2 separate regions of the Homo sapiens genome follow, and region 1 is linked to region 2. Evidence: promoter capture Hi-C in human tissues and cell types (Jung and others, 2019). All regions are on one chromosome and are shown on one strand. The core of a region is centred on a gene start or on the middle of the fragment in contact, and the rest is flanking DNA. Distances in the headings are between cores, read along the strand shown.

Evidence for each region. The method cuts DNA at HindIII sites, captures the fragments that hold promoters and counts their contacts. A contact is called where the count stands out against the background at its distance.
Region 1: a fragment that was not itself captured here is called in contact with the fragment with the promoter of SLC30A1 in region 2 in 1 of the 25 tissues and cell types used here (hippocampus).

The regions. Positions count from the first base shown.
Region 1 is chr1:210,352,908-210,357,936 of GRCh38, reverse strand. The region is part of intron 2 of HHAT (hedgehog acyltransferase); the gene reads right to left. Among named protein-coding and RNA genes, the nearest start is that of HHAT, 27 kb to the right of the region's middle. The HindIII fragment of the contact is 5,250 bases long and covers 535-5,029 here.
Region 2 is chr1:211,577,681-211,582,682 of GRCh38, reverse strand. SLC30A1 (solute carrier family 30 member 1) reads left to right here and starts at 3,522. Exons shown (of 2, transcript NM_021194.3): 1 at 3,522-4,692. The coding sequence starts at 4,071. RefSeq lists silencers at 2,933-3,492, 3,733-4,042, 4,543-4,892 and enhancers at 3,349-3,848, 3,849-4,350, 4,323-4,432. The HindIII fragment of the contact is 26,870 bases long and covers 1-5,002 here.

The DNA of each region.
Region 1 (5,029 bases), core at 1,910-4,409, 1.2 Mb after region 2:
CACATTAACAAGAGAAGAGCATACAAATGTAGTTAATGTAAGTTTCACATGATACAGGAGCCTTAGTAAGGAAATGAAGACTAAGAAATGGCTAAATTTTATTTTATTTTATTTTTTGAGATGGAGTCTCACTCTGTCGCCCAGGCTGGAGTGCAGTGGTGCGAACTCGGCTCACCGCAAGCTCCACCTCCCGGGTTCACGCCATTCTCCTGCCTCAGCCTCCCAAGTAGCTGGGACTACAGGCGCCCGCCACCACACCCGGCTAATTTTTGTATTTTTAGTAGAGACGGGGTTTCACCATGTTAGCCAGGATGGTCTTGATCTCCTGACCTCATTATCCACCCGCCTCGGCCTCCCAAAGTGCTGGGATTATAGGCGTGAGCCACCGTACCCAGCCAAATTTGTGTATTTTAATGCTAGGTTTGATGAAGATTGGACAGTCATGGAGAAATAGATTTGGATAAAGTGAGTATGTTCTAATGGTAATAAACTGAGGGGAACTTAGCAAGACCTATTTCTTCTGTGTGATCCTTCATCTTCTGAGATAAGGATGTTCCCTTCTTTTGTGTATAGAGAAGGCACCTCTCACATGAGAGTTTTATGACCTGCTTCAGGGGAGAAAGGTTGGGAGTAACTTTCCTGCTTCTGCTGTTTTCTCAAATGCCAAGGTGCCATGTTTTGAGGTAGTGCTCCTGAACCCCCAACACCTACCTGAAGGACCAGTGTTAACCCAGGAGGAAAATGCCAGTGCAAGGAGGAAGGGATAGGCTACAAGACTTGGGATCCATTCCAATAGGAAGACAGTGATTCAACTGTTTCCTAAGACCCTGGCCATAGATAACAATGGAAACCACAGCCAAATATAATGTGAAGCATCACCAAACAGAATGTTTGGAGCCTTGGTTGTTCCACAACACTCACTGTTAATGCTTCAAGACAGGCTGTCCAGTTCCCAGCTCCTACAGGAGAAGTTCAATTGGGTCTTTTCACAAAGCCTTGTAAACTGAAGGGCCCCTGGTGGCCCCAGACATACTCAGTCAGCTCACCTGGTTCCAAGAGCAAGGACACCTGGTTCAAGGACAGGACCAGTGGCCTCTGTTTTCCCACCCTGGACTGGGTTCTTCAGAGTTACTGATCATCTTGCAACCACGTTCCTCTAATCACAGAAGTCAGTGGGAAAAATTACTTCCTAACAAAGCCCATGACCCGTAAGAGGTTAGCATGTTGCATGAAGAATGTAAAAGAAAGAACTAATCTATAAATGAGCTTCTGTATCCTTTCTTCATAAATCGAGCTTAGTAATAATGAAGGCCACAGGTTTATAAAGAAATAAACAAAAGGTAGAAGGTGAATGTGTTCCGTTATACTAGCTGTATCCCACTTTAAGAACAACTATATAAAAACAAAGAAACAGGGAGTAGTGATTCAAATAAATACTTCGCACCAGAAAAAGCAAAAGCTCTTTAAATATGAGGGCTCCCCGGTGCTAGAGTTTATTTAAAGAAACATTAACTACAGATATATCACTGAATATTAAAAAAATGAAAAAAAAAGCCTGTGACATGAAAACGCAAATCAACGGGAAGCACAATTTCATTTATAAAAATGTCATTAATATGCAACTTTTCAGGAACATAGCTGCTTCATAAAAGAAGATGTGCCTGGGCTCTGCAAAATCAGAAGGTTCTAGGGTAGCTGCTTTTCATTAGAAAATAATTTTCACAGGCCAGGCATAGTGGCTCATGCCTATAATCCCAGGACTTTGGGATTTGGCTTGAGGCCAGGGGTTTAAGACCAGCCTGGGCAACATAGCAAGACCCTGTCTCCAAAAAAAAAAAAAAATAGCCAAGCAAGTGTGCAAGTGTGGTACTGTGTGCCTGTAGTCCTAGCTACTTAGGAGGCCGAGGTTGGAGGATCACTTGAGCCCAAGCACTTGAGTTTGCAGCGAGCTAGGACTGAGCCACTACACTCCAGCCTGAGCAACAGGATGAGACACTGTCTCAAAAATAATAATAATGAAATAGAAAAATATGAATTGCTCAAACTGACTTAAGAATGAAAACATACCAATAACCCTGAAAGGTACTGAAAAGTTTTCAATGAATCTACTCCCAAAGAGATTTCATGCCTAGACAAACTTAGAAGTGAATAACATCAGACACTGATGCAGACATTTCATATACTACTTTAACAGTTCCATAATATTTTTTAAAATGGAATCCTCTCCAGTTGTTTTATAAAGCTAACAGGATATCAAGATTGAAATTTGGGGATGAGACAAAACAAAATTACAGGCCAACCACTCTCACTTAGAAATCCATATATTTTTTAACCCTAGGGAAAAAAGCAGTATGTTTAAAAATACCATGGTCACGGTAGGTTTGTAATAGGAATGAATCCGTATGGTTTGCCTCTGGAAAACTGATGACTTTAAAATATAGTATCAATAGGTCAAAAAAGGAATAGGTACTTTAAAAACAAATAAAATTCAACACTTATTGCCAATTTAAAGGGGCTAGGATTCCTTAACATGAGTTTTTAAAAACAAGTAAGTAAAGCTTGTTCAACCTTTCACTATACAGAGATTTCCATTAAAGTCAGAATTAAAACAGGTTAACATTCAACTATTGTATTGTTCTAGATGTCCTAGCAAAGCAAAAACAAATGAAGCAAAACTACTATCATTATCTGTGGATGGTATTATCTAAATAGAAGGACAAGGAAAATCAAGCCAATGGAACATAAGAGAATTCAATAAATTGCTGAAATATAAAATACATAAACCAAAATAAATACCTTTAGTGTAGATCAGAAATAATCAGCTAGAAAATTTGTAAAATATCCCAATCACAAAAGGAGAAAGGAAAAGACTCAGAAATAATCTTAAGTTTTAGCAGAATCTATTATGAAGACAACCACAAACCTTCATTAAGGGAAGTGATGAAAGATTTTGAATAAGCAAAGAAAAAATATATTATTGGATAGAAAGACACATTATAAAAATATCAATTATTTACAAATTAATTTATAAGTTTATTACAATTCTAATTAAAACCCTAATGATTTTTTGAAAGTAGCCAATTTCAAATATATATCTGGAAGAATAAGCCAGTAAGAACAGCCTAAGAAAGATCTGAAAACAAAGAACCAATAACTAATAACTTACTCCAGATACTTAGGCATTTTGTAAATCAAAAATAATTAAAACGGCACAGTATTGATGTAAGAATTGATTGAGAAATCAATTAAACAGAATATAAGAATTTAATATGTGAGGCCAGGCACCCTTGTTCATGTATGTAATCTCAGCACTTTGGGAGGCCGAGGCAGGAAGATCGCTTGAGTCCAGGAGTTTGAGACCAGTCTGAGCAACATAGAGAGAGCTTGTCTCTCTTTTTATAAAATAAAAAATAAAAATAAATTTTAACAAAAGAACTCAGTACATGATCAAGATTGCATCATAATTATCATAATCACCAGTAATCCCGGCACTTTGGGTGGCCAAGGAGTTTGAGACCAGCCTGACTAACATGGAGAAACCCTGTCTTTACTAAAAATACAAAAATTAGCAGGGTGTGGTGGTACACACCTGTAATCCCAGCTACTCAGGAAGCAGAGGCATGAGAATTGCTTGAATCCAGGAGGCAGAGGTTACAGTGAGCAGAGATCGTGCCACTGTACTCCAGCCTGGGTAACAGAGCAAGATTCTGTCTCAAAAAAAAAAAAAAAAAAAAAAAAAAAGACATTATGTTTAGTTATCTATTTGTGAAAAAATATCACATCATATACTAAAATACACTTGAGATGGATTGAAGAGCACTCAACTTGCTGAGAGTAGTACAGAAAAATGGATCTCCTCCTTTGGAAGCGTTAATTGGCCCAGCCTTCCTGAGAACAGCCTGGGTTCATCTATTAAGCACCTGAAAAATGGTTGTGTGGTTTTACTCTATAACTCCTCTTCTAGAAATCTTTCTGAGAAAAACAATCAACAATCCAAACACATTCTTTACAAAGTAAATGAGCTAAGCATTCAACTCATGACAATGAAATAAAAAGGAACAGACCAAACCTAAAGAAACAATAAGGAAGGAAATAATGAGATAAGGGCAAAAATCAATGAGTTAGAAAACAAAAAGAAACAACTGAGAAAATAAAGCCAAATGCTGAAAAGATTAATAAGATCTCTGGCACCGTTGATCAAAGAAAGAAAAAATAGAAGGGAGGGAGAAGTGGAAAGAGGAAATGAAGGGAGTGAAGATGATGCAGATAAAATATAAAATAATGAAACACCAAAAAATTTTTAAGTAAGAGTTAAGAACCACAATATACTAATCAAACTGAAAACCTACATAAAGTATATAGATTTCCTAGAAAGCTATAAAATGTCAAGATGGGTACAAGAAGAAATAAAACATTTAAATAAGAACGAATAGGTGGTAAACTGAAATAGTCAAAGACTTCCCCTCCCAGGTGCTTTTTTTTAAAAAAAAAAAAAAAAAAAACAGGTGACTTCCTTCTATCACCGGGATTTTCCATGATGGGAATTCAATAGTTTTTATTCCGAATATTGCATTAAATTGACATGGCCAGAAAAATATATGGCATCCTTTTAGGCAGAGGCATCAATTCGTTCAAGGCCTATCACACAAGCCTTCTGATGCATGGTACATTGCATTTTCACATTAAATGTAAACAGAGAGGGGCCGGGCGTGGTGGCTCATGCCTGTAATCCCAGCACTTTGAGAGGCTGAGGGGAGTGGATTACCCCAGGTCAGGAATTCGAGACCAGCTTGACTAGCATGGTAAAACCCTGTCTGTACTAAAAATACAAAAATTAGCCAGGCATGGTGGCATGCACCTGTAGTCCCAGCTACTCAGGAGGCTAAGACAGAAGAATTGCTTGAACCTGGGAGGCAGAGGTTGCAGTGAGCCGAGATTGCGCCACTGCACTCCAGCCTGGGTGACAGACCAAGACTCCATCTCTTATTAAAAAAAAAAAAAAAAGTAAACAGAGACAAAAAGTTTTATG
Region 2 (5,002 bases), core at 2,273-4,772:
GTTTTGCTCTTGTCGCCCAGGCTGGAGTGCAATGGTGCTATCTCAGCTCACTGCAACCTCTGCCTCCCTGGTTCAAGCGATTCTCCTGCCTCAGCCTCCCGAGTAGCTGGTTTTACAGGCATGCACCACCATGCCTGGCTAATTTTTGTATTTTTAGTAGAAATGGGGTTTCACCATGTTGGCCAGGCTGGTCTTGAACTCCTGACCTCAGGTGATCCACAAGTCTAGGCCTCCCAAAGTGCTGGGATTACAGGTGTGAGCCACTGTGCCCGGCCTATTCTTTAAATTAACAAATATAAAAATTCAGTGACTGTTCCCAGCCTCTTACTGTACAGTTTCACTCTCTGCACTGTTCCTGTTTCCCCTTTGCTGCTACGTGGGTTTCCTGCTCTGACCATTTCTTTCATATGGTTTCCCTCACACCTCTGAGACTTTAGTGCTATTTCTGGGCTTTATTGCTGCATTGTCAGTTGTTTATTCTTTGTTCCACTGCCTGTTCCTTTGAGAGCAGCTGAGAAATCAAACCTTGGCCTTCATGTTGTTGGTAGAGATTTCACTTCATATTTGTAATAATTATTCATTTATGTTTTGAGAGATTTCCCCATCAGTTTTAAGATTGAACATTAGAAGTGATTTACTGTCAGCCAAAGTCAAATATAATGTGGTTTTCACAGGGTTTTGTTATTTTATCTTTCCAAGCAAGGTACAGCTTTATACACTCATGATTTTTGATTACCAAAATTCAGAAGTACGTTTGTGTTTAGCAGTTTTTACGAGAATCTTACAAGATCATTTTAAACTTTCATTAAAAGCAAGGAGAGGTCCAGAGGGCTTTGAGATTGCAGTTTGTCTGAAGCCCTTGACTTTCATTCAAATTGGCAGTCTCTTTTCCAAAAAGAGCATTATTCTCTCATCTTTAAAGTATGCTGGGTTTAGTCAGTTTGGATACTAAGCAAGTTATCAGGAGATTTCTCAAACATTAAGAAGAGAAAGCCAAGCCGTCTTACTCAACCCAGGGCCACAGCCTCCAGGGGTGTTGGTGAATAACAGTATAGTGTCCCTTCATTTTAATCTATTCCTGCCTGTGTTGACACTCTACTAGGACAACCAGATGAAAAGGGAAAAAGCTCGAGTTGAGGTACCAAAGTCTTTTGCCTACACAATGTTAGAGGGAAACAAAGTCTGACTGAAGTGTTCTGCTGTGTGGTAAATATTACTCTCTCCAGAGAACATGATTATAACTTCTCTAGAACCTGGAAAATGTACTCCCTGCCCCCTCTGCCCCGCCCCCAACCACCCACCAGGAGGGAATAAAGCACATTGTCTGGGAAATGGCTGAAATGCAGGCACAAAGTAGGTTTTCAGAAGCGGCTATGAGTTGAACCTGTTTTTATATGGGTCTAAAAATCTCCCAATTTAGTCTGTTTAGTTATTGAAGGATTGCTATTGTGTTTGCAAGCATCACTGACTTTTACATCTTCTTATTGGTTCTTCTTTGGGTATCAAATCTTCGCATTTGGAGGAATGTATTTTTTAAATAAAGCGAGGCACAGCAGCCCTTAGTAGAAAGCAAAATGGTCTTCAAACTGCCTCTAGGCCATTTCCATGAGGATATCTTGACCCATAAGTGGCTTCCGAATTTCTGTATATGAGGGGCTAGTTGATAGGATGTTTGAAGCTGTGTTTACAGATGATCAGAAAACTGTCACTCATCCATATCAAAGGAGAGGAAGTTATGGAAGTCCTAAACCCATTAATCCACCCTTTAGCACTGCCCAAACCCAGACTTCACTTCAAATTAAGCACATTAAAAATGGAGTTCATATTTTCTCCTAAAAATCAGCTTCTTGGCCTCCCTTCCCAACTTCCTCACCTGTTTAAGGCAGTATTTTCCTTGTCAGGTTAGAAACATTATAACTATCTTTGTTCTCCTACCTAGCTTCCTCCTTCCCAATACCCAATTAATCATCAAATTCTATCATTTTTTCCTTAATAATGTCTTGAAAATTTTCCTCCATTCTTTATATTCCAGCAAAACAGAAACAGAAGGTGAGGATCCAGCTCTCCAGTCTGGATGGGGAGACTAGAAACACACTACATACAAGTGAAAAAAATTTCATAGGAATTACAAGAATACCAAAACAATGCAAAATAACAGCTCCAAACAAGCCTTGTATACACATCTCCAGGCAATAGCTGGCACTGCATTTGTCCAGTAGTAATCTAGGGCAGTGGGTGGGGAGGTCCTTCTGCTGCGCAGGGGCTGTGGTGAGGCCTTTCAGGTCCAGCTTAAGCCACTCTGATTCCAGCCACCACCCCACCTTAGATGGGCAAGCTGTTCCTTTCCAGATCAACTCATCTCCACCCACAACACAGTGCTTATGTATTCAGTCTAAAATAGCACAATTTATCAAGAGTATTCCATCGTAATTTTAAAATGTCGTGTTTATATTTTACCTCCACCTGGACAGAAACTCGTTCCTTTGTATTCTTACTGCCCCTCCACCTCCCCATAGCAACCAGCACAAGATTCCACCGTGTGTAGTCTATAAATAAATGTTAAATCATAGAGCCTTAGAATTTTGGAGTCAGACGGGGATCTTCAGAGTTGCATTTGTCCAGTCCTTTATAGATGGGGAAACAGGTCTAGAGAGATTAGGTGACTTGCTCAAAGCCACACAGCTGGCTATTGACAAGGCAAGGAGCAGAGCCCAGGTTTCTCCTGCCTGAAGTCTGTACCCTGAACTGTCCTTAGATAATCAGTGACAGACACCTGAGTTCACACAAGGTCTCCAGGGGTTGATGGTGATAGGAGAAACTGGCTTTCCCAAAACATGTACAAAGATTCGGTCCACGCCCCTAGCAGACCTTCGGGAGGACTAACTCCTCAGCTCGGCGTCCAGCAGAGTCCCAAGTTACAGTCGCACTTGTTTATGCGTCTGTCGGCCTCCTCCGACAGGACCGAGTACTCGAGGGCCCCGCGCTCAGGGGCTCCCCTCCGGCCCCTCCCCCGCCGCCGAGCTGTCACACAGCCGCCGCGCGGCCCGCCCCCACGTGGACTGGGCTCGGAGGATCAAAGTCTGTTTGCAGACTTTGCAGCCCGGCCCCCGCAGGTGTGCTGGGAGTTGCGATGGTCCGCAGGCCAGGACTCCGCCACACCCGAGGGGACCCGGCCAGCCCCTCCCCCTCCCGCTGCACGCGGCCCGCGCCCCCAATTCGCCCGCCGCTGCACCCGGCCACGGCCCCCCGGCCCACGCCCGGCTCCGGGAGGAAAAGGCCCCGCCCCTATCTGTTGGAGCCGCGACCCCGCCCCCTTCCCGCCCCTCCGAGGCTCCATCCAATAGTGAGCGTGGCTGGGCGGGACGCCGAGGCTGTCGTGAGGGGGTCCTGACCAATGGGGAAGCGTGCCGGGCCTGGTGGGCGGGGCGGCAAGGCCTTGTCACGCTCGGGTCCGTGTGAAAACGGGGGTTCCGAGTGCAAAGCAAAGTTTTTTTGTAAACCGTCTGCAAAGGCGGGGGGGCGAAGAAGGCGCCCGAGACCGGGCCGAGTGCAGCTGCCGTGGCCGCCGCCTCTCTAGCTCCTCAGCCATCCGCTCCTCAGTCCAGCCGCCGCAGAGGAGACCAGCAAGCAGAGCCCTCAGATGCTCGGAGCTTTCTCGGCGCGAAGCTGCCCGTCGCCCTCTCCTGCCGCCCTCGCCCGCCGCCCTCCTGCTCCTGCTCCGGCTGCGGCTCTTGGTACCCCGGCTCCGGGAGCCCAGCTCCCCGCCACCGCCGCCGCCTGGGTGTGGGGGCTGCTGAGGCTGAGCCGGGCCTCGGCGCCGGCTCTGAGGACGGACGCCTGAGGAGCTGCGCGGCGCGGCGCCGCCGGCTGGCGGAGAACGCCCACAGGCGCGGGGCTCGGCGGCTTGACCCGGGCTTGTCCCCGTGCGGCCGCGGGGGCCCCTCAGCGGTTTCCCGAACGGCCCGACTCGGGCGCTCCTCCGTGTCGCGGTCGCCGACCCTCCGCGTCCCGCCAACGCCGCCGCTGCACCAGTCTCCGGGCCGGGCTCGGCGGGCCCCGCAGCCGCAGCCATGGGGTGTTGGGGTCGGAACCGGGGCCGGCTGCTGTGCATGCTGGCGCTGACCTTCATGTTCATGGTGCTGGAGGTGGTGGTGAGCCGGGTGACCTCGTCGCTGGCGATGCTCTCCGACTCCTTCCACATGCTGTCGGACGTGCTGGCGCTGGTGGTGGCGCTGGTGGCCGAGCGCTTCGCCCGGCGGACCCACGCCACCCAGAAGAACACGTTCGGCTGGATCCGAGCCGAGGTAATGGGGGCTCTGGTGAACGCCATCTTCCTGACTGGCCTCTGTTTCGCCATCCTGCTGGAGGCCATCGAGCGCTTCATCGAGCCGCACGAGATGCAGCAGCCGCTGGTGGTCCTTGGGGTCGGCGTGGCCGGGCTGCTGGTCAACGTGCTGGGGCTCTGCCTCTTCCACCATCACAGCGGCTTCAGCCAGGACTCCGGCCACGGCCACTCGCACGGGGGTCACGGCCACGGCCACGGCCTCCCCAAGGGGCCTCGCGTTAAGAGCACCCGCCCCGGGAGCAGCGACATCAACGTGGCCCCGGGCGAGCAGGGTCCCGACCAGGAGGAGACCAACACCCTGGTGGCCAATACCAGCAACTCCAACGGGCTGAAATTGGACCCCGCAGGTGAGCCGGGAAAGTCGCTGCCGCAGGTGGTTGGGTTTGGGGTGCCCAGAGCCTCGCCTGGCCTTCGGCGGGGTGGCCCGCACGCCCCCTGCTGCCCGAGCGGGCCTGCGCCGCGCCGCCCCTGCCTGCTCCCTCCCCGTCCTGCACACGCCCCGCTGCTGCTCCAGGAAATCAGAACCCCCTCAGTCGGGTGCAAGGAGCCGGCGACGCGTCTGGCATATTTGTAGGTGGGGGCTGTGGGTCAGACCCTAAGAAAAAGGGTCAGGAGGTGATCATCATCCCGCTGCAGTCCACACCCGCACTTGGCTGT